3 separate regions of the Homo sapiens genome follow, and regions 1 and 3 are each linked to region 2. The links are contacts of gene promoters, found by promoter capture Hi-C in blood cells and fetal thymus (Javierre and others, 2016). All regions are on one chromosome and are shown on one strand. The core of a region is centred on a gene start or on the middle of the fragment in contact, and the rest is flanking DNA. Distances in the headings are between cores, read along the strand shown. Region 1 has its middle 17 kb from the start of TMEM86A. Region 2 holds the start of TSG101 (tumor susceptibility 101). Region 3 holds the start of TMEM86A (transmembrane protein 86A).

Evidence for each region. The method cuts DNA at HindIII sites, captures the fragments that hold promoters and counts their contacts. A CHiCAGO score of 5 or more calls a contact.
Region 1: a contact is called between a fragment that was not itself captured here and the fragment with the promoter of TSG101 in region 2, in 1 of 17 cell types (activated CD4 T cells). The highest score is 5.5, in activated CD4 T cells.
Region 3: a contact is called between a fragment that was not itself captured here and the fragment with the promoter of TSG101 in region 2, in 10 of 17 cell types (fetal thymus, activated CD4 T cells, non-activated CD4 T cells and 7 more). The highest score is 13.0, in fetal thymus.

The regions. Positions count from the first base shown.
Region 1 is chr11:18,680,664-18,683,882 of GRCh38, reverse strand. No RefSeq gene overlaps it. Among named protein-coding and RNA genes, the nearest start is that of TMEM86A, 17 kb to the left of the region's middle. The HindIII fragment of the contact is 4,681 bases long and covers 1-3,219 here.
Region 2 is chr11:18,525,010-18,528,709 of GRCh38, reverse strand. TSG101 (tumor susceptibility 101) reads left to right here and starts at 1,768. Exons shown (of 10, transcript NM_006292.4): 1 at 1,768-1,935. The coding sequence starts at 1,894. RefSeq lists an enhancer at 1,499-1,608. The HindIII fragment of the contact is 722 bases long and covers 1,303-2,024 here.
Region 3 is chr11:18,697,716-18,701,263 of GRCh38, reverse strand. TMEM86A (transmembrane protein 86A) reads right to left here and starts at 2,485. Exons shown (of 3, transcript NM_153347.3): 1 at 2,357-2,485; 2 at 67-331. The coding sequence starts at 2,377. RefSeq lists a silencer at 2,374-2,683 and an enhancer at 2,277-2,778. The HindIII fragment of the contact is 4,812 bases long and covers 1-3,548 here.

The DNA.
Region 1 (3,219 bases), core at 559-3,058, 160 kb before region 2:
TGTAATCCCAGCACTTTGGGAGGCCAAGGTAGGTGGATCATGGGGGCTGAGGCAGGAGAATTGCCTGAACCCAGGAGGCAGAGGTTGCAGTGAGCCAACATCGCGCCATTGCACTCCAGCCTGGGTGACAAGAGTGAAACTCCATCTCAAAAAAAAAAAAAGAAAAGAAAAAGAAAAATACATGTGATAAAACCTAGACATTAGCCACTCTGCTTAGTACCCAATATCAAACTGGCAAGGCTCAAACTTGCCCCAGGTTGGGCCCTGTCATGTTTGATCCACTCAAAGTAGGGTGGAATGACCTCCAACCAGGAGTTTCAACACGTGGTCTCTGGGCAAGATGGAAGAGTGGACAGTTGCCCTGGGTGACAGAAAAGGTGGGAAGAAATGGAAAGGAGAGAGAGAGACAGAAAAGCATTGCCTGCGATGGGGTGGGGAAGGCAAGAACATTGGGGAGAGCAGAGAAAGACTCACCCATTGCAGCAACACATCGTGAAGGGATCTTTACCAGCAGTCCCTTCAGTTGTCAACTGTGCCCCTTTGGGGAGAAAAAAGCTCCTCATGTCCAGTGATCCTGTATGTGCCAAATTCTGACACCCACCATAGTCAGCAAAGAGTACAAGGAAGATTAGTTCAATGAGAATAGCGGTTAACATCCCACAGTGCCAAATTCATTTTTAACCAAGAGGGACTTTACCAAGGGGGACCTCTAACCCCTTAAATATTAGGAAAAACTCTAACCTTCCTAAGTTGGGCCTCAAACCCAATCCCATTTTTTACCCAGGTAAAATGAACCGCACCACTCACCCAAAGTCGGACAATCGGTGCTGCGCAGACAATTTTCCTTTGTGTCAAGGGTCTCTTCAGTATAGTCCCTTCATGGTTTGCCAGGAAGATGTTACCAGAAAGGGGTCCTGATCCAGACCCCAAGAGAGGGTTCTTAGACTTCATGCAAGAAAGAATTTCAGGCGAGTCCATAGAGTAAAGTGAAAGCAAGTTTATTAGGAAAGTTAAAAAAATAAAGGAATGGCTATTCCATAGGCAGAGCAGTAGCATGAGCTGCTCAGCTGAGAATACTTATGGTTATTTATTGATTATATGCTAAACAAGGGGTGGATTATTCATAAGTTTTCTAGGAAAGGGGCAGGCAATTTCTTTTAGACCATATAGGGTAATTTCCTGACATTACCATAGCATTTGTAAATTGTCATGGCACGATGGGCGTGTCTTTTAGCATGCTAATATATTATAAATGGTCTATAATGAGCAGTGAGGACAACCAGAGGCCACTTTCATTACCATCTTTGGTCTTAGTGGGTTTTGGCTGGCTTCTTCTTTTTTCCTCATTTTTCTTTATTTATATATATGTTTTTGAGACGGAGTCTCACTCTGTTGCCCAGGCTAGAGTGCAGTGGTGTGATCTCAATTCACTGCAACCTCCACCTCCTGGGTTCAAGTGATTCCCCCACCTCAGCCTCTCAAGTAGCTGGGATTACAGGTGCCTGCCACCACACCCAGCTAAATTTTGTATTTTTAGTAGAGACAGGGCTTCACCATGTTGGCCAGGCTAGTCTTGAACTCCTGACCTCAAGTGATCCACTCACCTCGGCCTCCCAAAGTACTGGGATTACAGGCATGAGCCATCACACCCAGCCTTGGCTGGCTTCTTTACTGCATCCTCTTTTATAAGCAGTGCTTTTGTGACCTGTATCTTGTGATACCAGACATGCCAACCTCCTATCCCATCCTGTGACTAAGAATGTCTGACCTCCTGGGAATGCAGCCCAGTAGGTCTCAGCTTTATTTTACCCAGCCTCTATTCAAGATGGAGTCACTCTGATTCAAATGCTTCTGACATATTGATGGGGGCATCATCAGGCCTTGAGACACAAGTGGATTTCTCTAACTATAAAGCTGCCAAACCAAGAGTCTTCTAACAGGGTTCAATACCAGGGATGCCCCAGGATAAATCCCTCTCAGTGAGGTGTGTGGGATTAGATGACCACCAACACCCAAGTTTCAGAGTTGCAAACTCTGTGAGGTCCAAGTGTTTTTATGAAGTCCTTGTGTTGTGGTCTCTGAGTATAGCCCTCTCACTGACTCCAGTCCCTTTTACCCCCACCCCATCCAGACCTGAAGCTCTCGAGGGTGCACCGTTGAGCTGCTTTTTCCTCCATGTTGGGAAGTTAGTAGGACGAAGTAGAAATAAGAAAGAAGTGTCTGGGGATTGCGCAGGAGAATGGTCTTTAAGGGAAAGAAAAAAAAACCTAGAAGATCCCACCCACCAAGCCCCAGGACCCTGAATTAATAATTCTGTCCTCAGCATCAATGCCTGAGGACCAGTCTTGGGATAACAGGGCAAAGCAGACCTCCCTATCGCTTTCTCTCAGAGACCCCATCTTCCCAGACACGCATCTCCCCAGACCTTTCGTCTAGTTAGCCTCCCTCAGATATAATAATTAATTCATGTTACTAGGCCAGGCACAGTGGCTCATGCCTGTAATCCCAGCACTTTGGGAGGCCGAGGCGGGCAGATCACCCGAGGTCAGGAGTTGGAGACCAGCCTGATCAACATGGCGAAACCCCATCTCTACTAAAAATACAAATTAGCTGGACATGGTGGTGCATACCTGTAATCCCAGCTACTCAGGAAGTTGAGGCAGGAGAATCGCTTGAACCCAGGAGGCGGAGGTTTCAGTGAGCTGAGATTGCGCCATTGCACTCCAGCCTGGGCAACAAGAGCAAAACTCCGTCTCAAAAATATATATCTATATAATTAATGTAACTGGTATTTATCACCCACTTACAACAGGCCAGGGTGTATCTGGGACATAGACATGAACAAAGACCTTCCCTGTCTTCATGGAGCCCACCAGCTGGCAGGAGAGGCTGACACAATGACCACGGCCTCAGCTTCCCTCCTCCACCCTGCCTCGCTCTCCTACAATCTCGCAAGACCAGAAAAATGGGCAGGGACAGCGAGAGCTTGCCAGGCCTTCAGGGGGATTCCTCCCAACAGACCAGAAGCGGAGCAAAAGGCAATGAGGTTGAGGCACCCTGTGCAGTGGTCAGGAGAGTTATTTGATTTGTGTTACCTCGGCCCTCTCCCAACCCTTTCCTTGGCTTCCTGCCTCCCATTCAGAGAAGACGGGGCTTTGGGAGTGTATAACACTCATGTATTACAATAGGGTTTAAACAGTAAACAAAAAAGCTGGAATT
Region 2 (3,700 bases), core at 519-3,018:
AACAAAAATATATAAATGGGCTGGGCGCAGTGGCTTACGCCTGTAATCCCAACATTCTGGCAGGCTGAGGCGGGTGGATCACCTGAGGTCAAGAGTTCCAGACCAGCCTGGCCAACATAGTGAAATCCTGTCTCTACTAAAAATACAAAAAATTAGCTGGGTGTGGTGGTGGGCACCTGTAATCCCAGCTACTCGGGAGGCTTAGGCAGGAGAATCGCTTGAACCCGGGAGGCAGAGGTTGCAGTGAGCCAAGATCACACTATCGCACTCCAGCCTGGGAAGCAAGAGCAAAACTCTGTCTCAAAAAAAAAAAAAAAAAAAAAAAAAAAAAATATATATATATATATATATATATATATATATATATGTAAAATTTATTTTAATATTTATAAATGTTGCATTTATAAAATATATAAATAATATATATTACCTGGCATTCCTCCAACTCACAAAGGTACAGTTGCTCTAATTAAAGGGACTCCTGGTTAAGCCGTGGCTTTAAGAACAGTTTGAAAACCTTCTTGCTTTTAAAAGACATAAAACAGCAAGTAAAATGGAAGGACAGACAGACCTCTAGTTTGGTTTGACTGGAGCTGTATGCTTAACTAAGGAGCTGAAAAACAGAGGCGGAGGTTGCAGTGAGCCGAGATGGTGCTACTGCACTCCAGCCTGGGCGATGGAGTGAGAGTGACTCAAAAAAAAAAAAAAAAGAAAAAGAAAAAGAAAAACAATACCTATTAATAGCCTTTATTTGTGCGTGTTAGCAACAGTTTATAATGATGCTTCCACATGCTTTCAGTTAGGCCCTCCTTGTGAATGTGACCTTCACTTAGACGCCAACTTTGAAGGGAATCAATACTACGGCCTTGTTCTCATTAGGGCTGTACTAAAATAATTGAAACTGTCACACATCATCAAACTCAAAATTTTACAATACCTTGAATGACACTGTGCTTACAAAACTGACGGTGATGTGTAATGATGACTAATGTAAGTCACCATGAAGAATTTTTATGGGAAGTAAAAATTCAATTAAGATGGAAGTACCTACCCTTGCATTGTGCAAGGCAATGAAGATCTGAAGGAAGCCTGCCTTCAAGGGCTTGGATTTTGACAGCGGACAGGTACACAAATACAGCACCAGGTAAAATACGGCCTGTATTATCATTTATGGGTGGGTACAGAGGAGAAATTCTGACTTACGGAATGATTTCCTGGAGAAGAAATTACTATCTGGCTTCTTGTGAAACAAAGGCTCTACACTTTACCCTTGCCAACGTATAGTATGAAGGTCTTTAAGCTTAAAAAAAATCATTAATTAGAGGACCACTGGGCATCATCTAAGGCAAGTGTATGACTTTAGAGTCGGGAGAAATTTGCGCCTGAGCTAGAAATGCACTAGCCTACCATTATCACAAGAGCAAGTCAGTGACAGAACAGTTCTCTGACCGCCAGTGCAGTGCCCTCCCACTTGATCAATCAGTCATTAAGGCTCACTGGCAAGCCCTTCGTACTTCTTCCCTCTCCGGCACTAGCTTCCTTAAGTCGACTCTGTGAAATACCTGCTAATCTTATCCTGAACCAGAGTTTCGACCCTCGGAACAGTCTTGCCCACATCTTTGGGACCCGATTCGTCCTGCTGATTCCGGCACTCGAGGGGCGGGTTGGTTGGAACCCACCCCACCAGGCCCCTCTCAATCCCACACGGTGTCCACCCTTGCCCGCAGGACGGCGGCCCGGAAGTGACGTAGTGGAAGCGGAAGTGGTGTAGTGGTGCCGACTTCCTGTTGTTTGAGGCCGGGTTGGGGGTGTGCGATTGTGTGGGACGGTCTGGGGCAGCCCAGCAGCGGCTGACCCTCTGCCTGCGGGGAAGGGAGTCGCCAGGCGGCCGTCATGGCGGTGTCGGAGAGCCAGCTCAAGAAAATGGTGTCCAAGGTGAGGCTGCGACGCGCTCGCCTCCCAGGGCGCGCCCACCGCTCCCTTCCGCGCCCTGTCGAGTCCGTCCCGGCCCAGCCAAGCAAGCTTCCCAGACGGGCCGGAAGCCCCGGTGCAGTCCTTAGCGACCTCCTCAGAACCCCGCCCCGAGGCGCCTGTCGCCTGGTGCGGGAATCCCCGTACGGGAGCTGGGAGGGTGGGGGACGGCGACAGTCAACAAAGGCGTGGAGCGGAGGCTACCTGACACCTGCCGCCCACCCGCCCTCCTCTCTTCCACTGAGTTTGGAGCTGTCTGTGGGGCAGTGTAGTTTTTCGTTTGTTTTTATAAACACAAACAAGGGATCATACTTAGTTGTAGATCTGAGGCAATCCTCTACTCCTGTCCCAATCTAGGGATCCTCCAGTCTTAGCCTTTCTTTTGCCGACCCGCAGAGAGTGTGGCCTTTTCAGTTTTGTATTCTCCAGAAAAGAAGCGAAAATACCAGTCCCTTACTGCCCCAGGTGAAATACATACCATTACCATTTCAGGGATTTTCTAAGAGTAACTACTTTTAAGTGTATGCTTCTTATAACGCGTATTTATTTGCTTTGAGCTTAATTTATGATCTTCACGGCTCAAGACTAGTGTTTTTTTTTTCAATTTTTAAAAAAGCAGTTAAGCATTTTGTATTTTAAAGCCATGATTTATTTATATAATTACTTCAAACGTGGCACCTCACACCAGAGTGGAATGGCTTTTGTTATGTTTTGTTGTAATTTTCCAAAACTATGTAAAATGATTGAGAGTTGAGTCTTGACCAGTTCAACGTGTTAGCTTGGGATAGTTTTGTCAAAGCAAGAATGGTAGCAATCAGCGGTTTAAGCGGTTTCAATTTTTAATAAAACACACTATTATGTGTAAAACTTTTTTAAAAACAGACTTTTTCCAGTTAAATCGCCCCCATAGTTCTTGATTGAAGACCAAATAATCTCTAAGGAGAAAATGACAGCTTTCAAAATAAAGCATATATTGGTTGTGTAATCGTATATTTTAGGCTTCTTGGTTTTGTTTTGATAAACTTGTTATCCTTAGTTATAGAAGACATATGGGAAGCCATAGAAGATTGTGACCCAGGTAAAGATCCATGTTGTAACTTTTATATATCACTTTTTGAAAAAAACGGTATATTGTTTTACATAGTATGTAACTGAAGAGTATCTGTTCCATGACTCTTTTTTTTTTTTTTTTTTTTTTAGAGTCTTGCTCTGTCACCCAGGCTGGAGTGCAGTGGCACGATCTTGGCTCACTGCAATCTCCGCCTCCCAGGTTCAAGCGATTCTCCTGCCTTAGCCTCCCAAGTAGCTGGGGATTACAGGTGCCCACCACTTCACACAGCTGATTGTTGTATTTTTAGTAGAGACGGGATTTCACCATGTTGGCCAGGCTGGTCTTAAACTCCAGACCTCAGTGATCCACCGCTTTGGCTTCCCAAAATGATGGGAATACAGGCGTGAGCCACCACACCTGGCCTCCATGACATTTTTGATCTTTAAATTGATAGCATAGTCATTAAGATTTAGTCCTTGGGCTGGGCGCAGTGGCTTACGCCTGTAATCCTAGCACTTTGGGAGGCCAAGGCGGGTGGATCACCTGAGGTCACGAGTTCAAGACCAGCCTGATCAACATGGTGAAACCCCGTCTCCTAAAATACAAAAATTAGCCGGGCATGATGGCGGGTGCCTGTAATCCCAGCCTACTCGGGAGGCTGAGATGGGAGAATCGCTT
Region 3 (3,548 bases), core at 886-3,385, 170 kb before region 2:
CACAGCCCAGGACCCTCTATCCCCCAGCCCCAGGACTCCTCCCAGGCAACTACTATGGCCACTGACCATGCACGAAGTATCCTTGGTCCTGCCAGATGAGGAAGGCGTCACCTACAGCAGAGAAGACAAGCCCCACAAAGATGCGGGTGGCGCTGGGGTGGGCCAGCAGGAATCCCAGGCCATGGGCCAGAAGGAAGAGCCAGAGGCAGAAGATAGGCAGGCACTTGATGAGGGTGCTGACCCACGATGGGCTAGATGAGGGCAGCCAGAGCACAAAATACACGCAGGTGGCCTTGAAGAACGGCACCAGTTTGGGTCCTTCACTCTTCACCTGGAGGACACAGGACAAGGGCAGCACTCAGAACTTGGGGGTTGAAAGCCAGCACCCTCAGCCTAGGCATCCACCCCAGAGACACTCCCATCCATACCCCCACCTCACTTCCACCCCCAACCTGAGAAGACTGACACAGAGAAACCCAGCCTGGCCTGCCTCTACCAGCCAGCAGGTTGTGGCCAAACCCATTACTGCCCTGAGGCTCAGTATATTAGGAGGGGCACCCTTCTGCAGCCTAGTGTGCTTCTCCCTTCCTGCCCCCTCCTTCTCCCTCCTCAGGGCCCCTTTAGCCCCTCCTCTCTGCCAGCAACAGCCCCCAGCTGTTCACTCTGGAATGGAGTGAAGTCAGTGGGAAACCACAGAGACACCCTGACTGGCCAACTCGTGATCCTCAGCATGGGGCCAGGGTGCAGCCTTAGGGCCCTGGCAACACCAGGTGTGTGCCAGGAATGTGGGAAAGCAGGCAATGGCAATCACCTCAGCCACCACAGCCTCTCTCCTCCTCAACCAGTCTGTTCCTCAGCCTCCACTCCACCTGCCCCAGCCTGAAGGTGGCATCAAGGGCAAGGAGGGCTATGCTAGGGATGCTGGCTAGATAAATGGACCCATGAGTTGGGAGCAAGAAAATTGTCCTTCAAACACCAAAGATTTCAAGGATTGGGGGAAGGGAGGGTGTGTGTCAGTCAGCCTCATTTCCCAGAGAACAAGAGCAACTCAAGCCACACCAGAAAGAGGCAGGAAAGGGGGGAGAGGTTCTATTCCCAGCTTCTGATCTGGAGCCAGCAGACAGGCTGGGAGATGGGGAACTGAGAGGGGGAAGTTAGAGCAGCTGACTTGGTCTCAGCCGGATTAGCAGAGGGCAGCTAAAGAAAGGTTGTACCCAAGGCCACTGCAGGCAGAGTCCAAGCTGGGGGAGGGGGCTGCAGCGATGTTCTGAATCTGTGATCCTTGAAACTCCTTTCCTTGGGCTGCTAACAGATCCATTGAGGGTGATATGGAGCAGCTGGAGTTCCCTGTACACCCACACTCTGCCCAAAGCGATTGTGTCTCTGGCTAGGTGAGCTGCCCAGCACAGGACTTGGGAAACACTCAGAGTCCAGACGACCAGGTACCTAAGGACTGATCAGACTGTGATGAGGAGGATTGGGAAGAGGCGGATGGGTGGTTCCAGGGTCCAAGCCTTTCCTTGTTCTGCCAGAGGTAAGAGCAGTGAGAAGAGATGACTTCCACTTCCCATGGAAATTAAGGCTGGTCAGGGTAGGGGCATGGTCAGAGGAGGCGGCTGGAGGGGATGCCCAGGCCCACAATGCCCAGCAACCACCTGCCAGCCCCTGGGAGCATTAACCTCCGCTCCATGGCCTCTCCCAGCCCCATATTTTCTAGAAGGAGATACTGGCAGTAGCTGGAGAGACCCTGACAGTTATAGGGAACCCAGTAGTAGAATAAGGAGGATGGGGAGACGAAACAAAAGGTTCAAGTTGAGAAAGTCTGAAAAGCAGGGGATGTCATAGAGAATGCCCCCTTTTCCCCCAGCGCGTTATCAGCGCTTCTTAGACTCAGGGGCGTCCGCCAACTTGTTTACAAAATGAGGAAGGTTAGGAAACAAACTTGGGACGGCATTCCCAGGAGGTCCCTGTTATCCTCCCAGCATCCCCCGCCCCCACGCCTCCCTGTGGTCCGCCTACGCGGAACTCTGCGGCCGGCAGCGGTCCCCTCCCTCTCCCGGGCCGCGACCCCGCCGACCCGCGCCAAATACATGGAGATCAACAAAGTCACGCTTCCGAGTCACGTGGCCAGTGTTTTCCTCCCTCCGCGGGCGGGCTGGGGGCGCGCGAGGAGGGGCGCCGCGAGTCTGAGGAGCGGGGGGCGGTGACAGCGCCCGCCTCCCGCCGCGGGACTCCGGCCGCCACGGGACCCCCGCCCCGCCTCGGCCCCTTCGGCAGCTCGGCCTGCCGAAGTCCGGTGGCCAGGCCGGTGGGCTCCAGCCGCGCCGGGCACTGGCTCGCTCGCTCGCTCACTCACCACAGTGACCGGGGACACCATGGCGGCGGCGGCGGCGGCTGGCACCCTGCTCCGGGCTGCAGCGGCCAGGACGCGCCCACGGCCAGGTAAGCCGGCGACGATTCTACAAAGCCCGGAGGGACGGACAATACCTCCCGAGCGCCCGGCGCCGGGGTTCTGTCAGCTAGCCCCGTGACGTCACCGCTGCCAGGGCCAATGAGCGGGCGGGAGCCGGGGGGGCGGGGCCCGGCTGGCGGCGCCGGCCAGGCCCCCGGCTGCTGCTCGGAGAAAGGAGGCATCTCCCAGGGGTCAGAAGGCGGATACCCCCCAGGCCCCGCCCCCTTGGGAGGCCGTGCCAAGGCGTCCACGGAACGTGAACGTGACCGTGACCCCGGTGCCTGGGTGAGGACTGAGCTTGGCTGAGAGACAAACACATTGCTGTCCTGGACGCACAGCCACATACATTTTCTCATAACCCGGGAGCAAAAGGCAAAGACAGATTCCCTTAAGCCTTTAAACATGCAGTCCACGCCGATACGATTGCAATTGGACTCACAACCTTCACTGTGTACAAACACACATCCAAATCATCAGCAAACACACAACCTTCGACTTGAAAAGCGGCACGTATATAGGTATGCAGCAGCCATGGACCCATAATCGTAGCATATACATCACACATACAGAATCATAATTACCCTTAAGCACTCAACAAGTACACAGATCCAAAACCAACAACCACAAATTGACATATATGCTCCATGTAAGAAAAGAGACATATACAGGGACTCTACAGCAGCTCGTAGACCCATGACCCTAATATAGAAACAAACACAGATAATTGGCCGTAGGCACACACCTCTTACAACTCAGAGACCACTGCCACACATACAAGAGCACCCCAAGAATGACAGACAGGCAGACCCAAAGAAGCGTGAGCTAACTTTGCCAAAAATACGTCCCAAGTGGATTTAATGTTGATTTTACGTAGACTAAAGGAACACAAGCTCATTCAGAGCGGTGCATGTTCAGAATCATTGGAATTACATGGAGAGGTAGGTGGCCAGATGGACTGAAATCTAGTCCCAGTTTTGCCACTTCCATGCTGTTAGATTGGGTGAATCACTTCCCCTCTCTGGTCTTGATTTCCTCACTTAGAAGATGAGCGGGTGAGTTCTAAGGTTCCACCCAACTCTGACATGTGTAGGTTGGG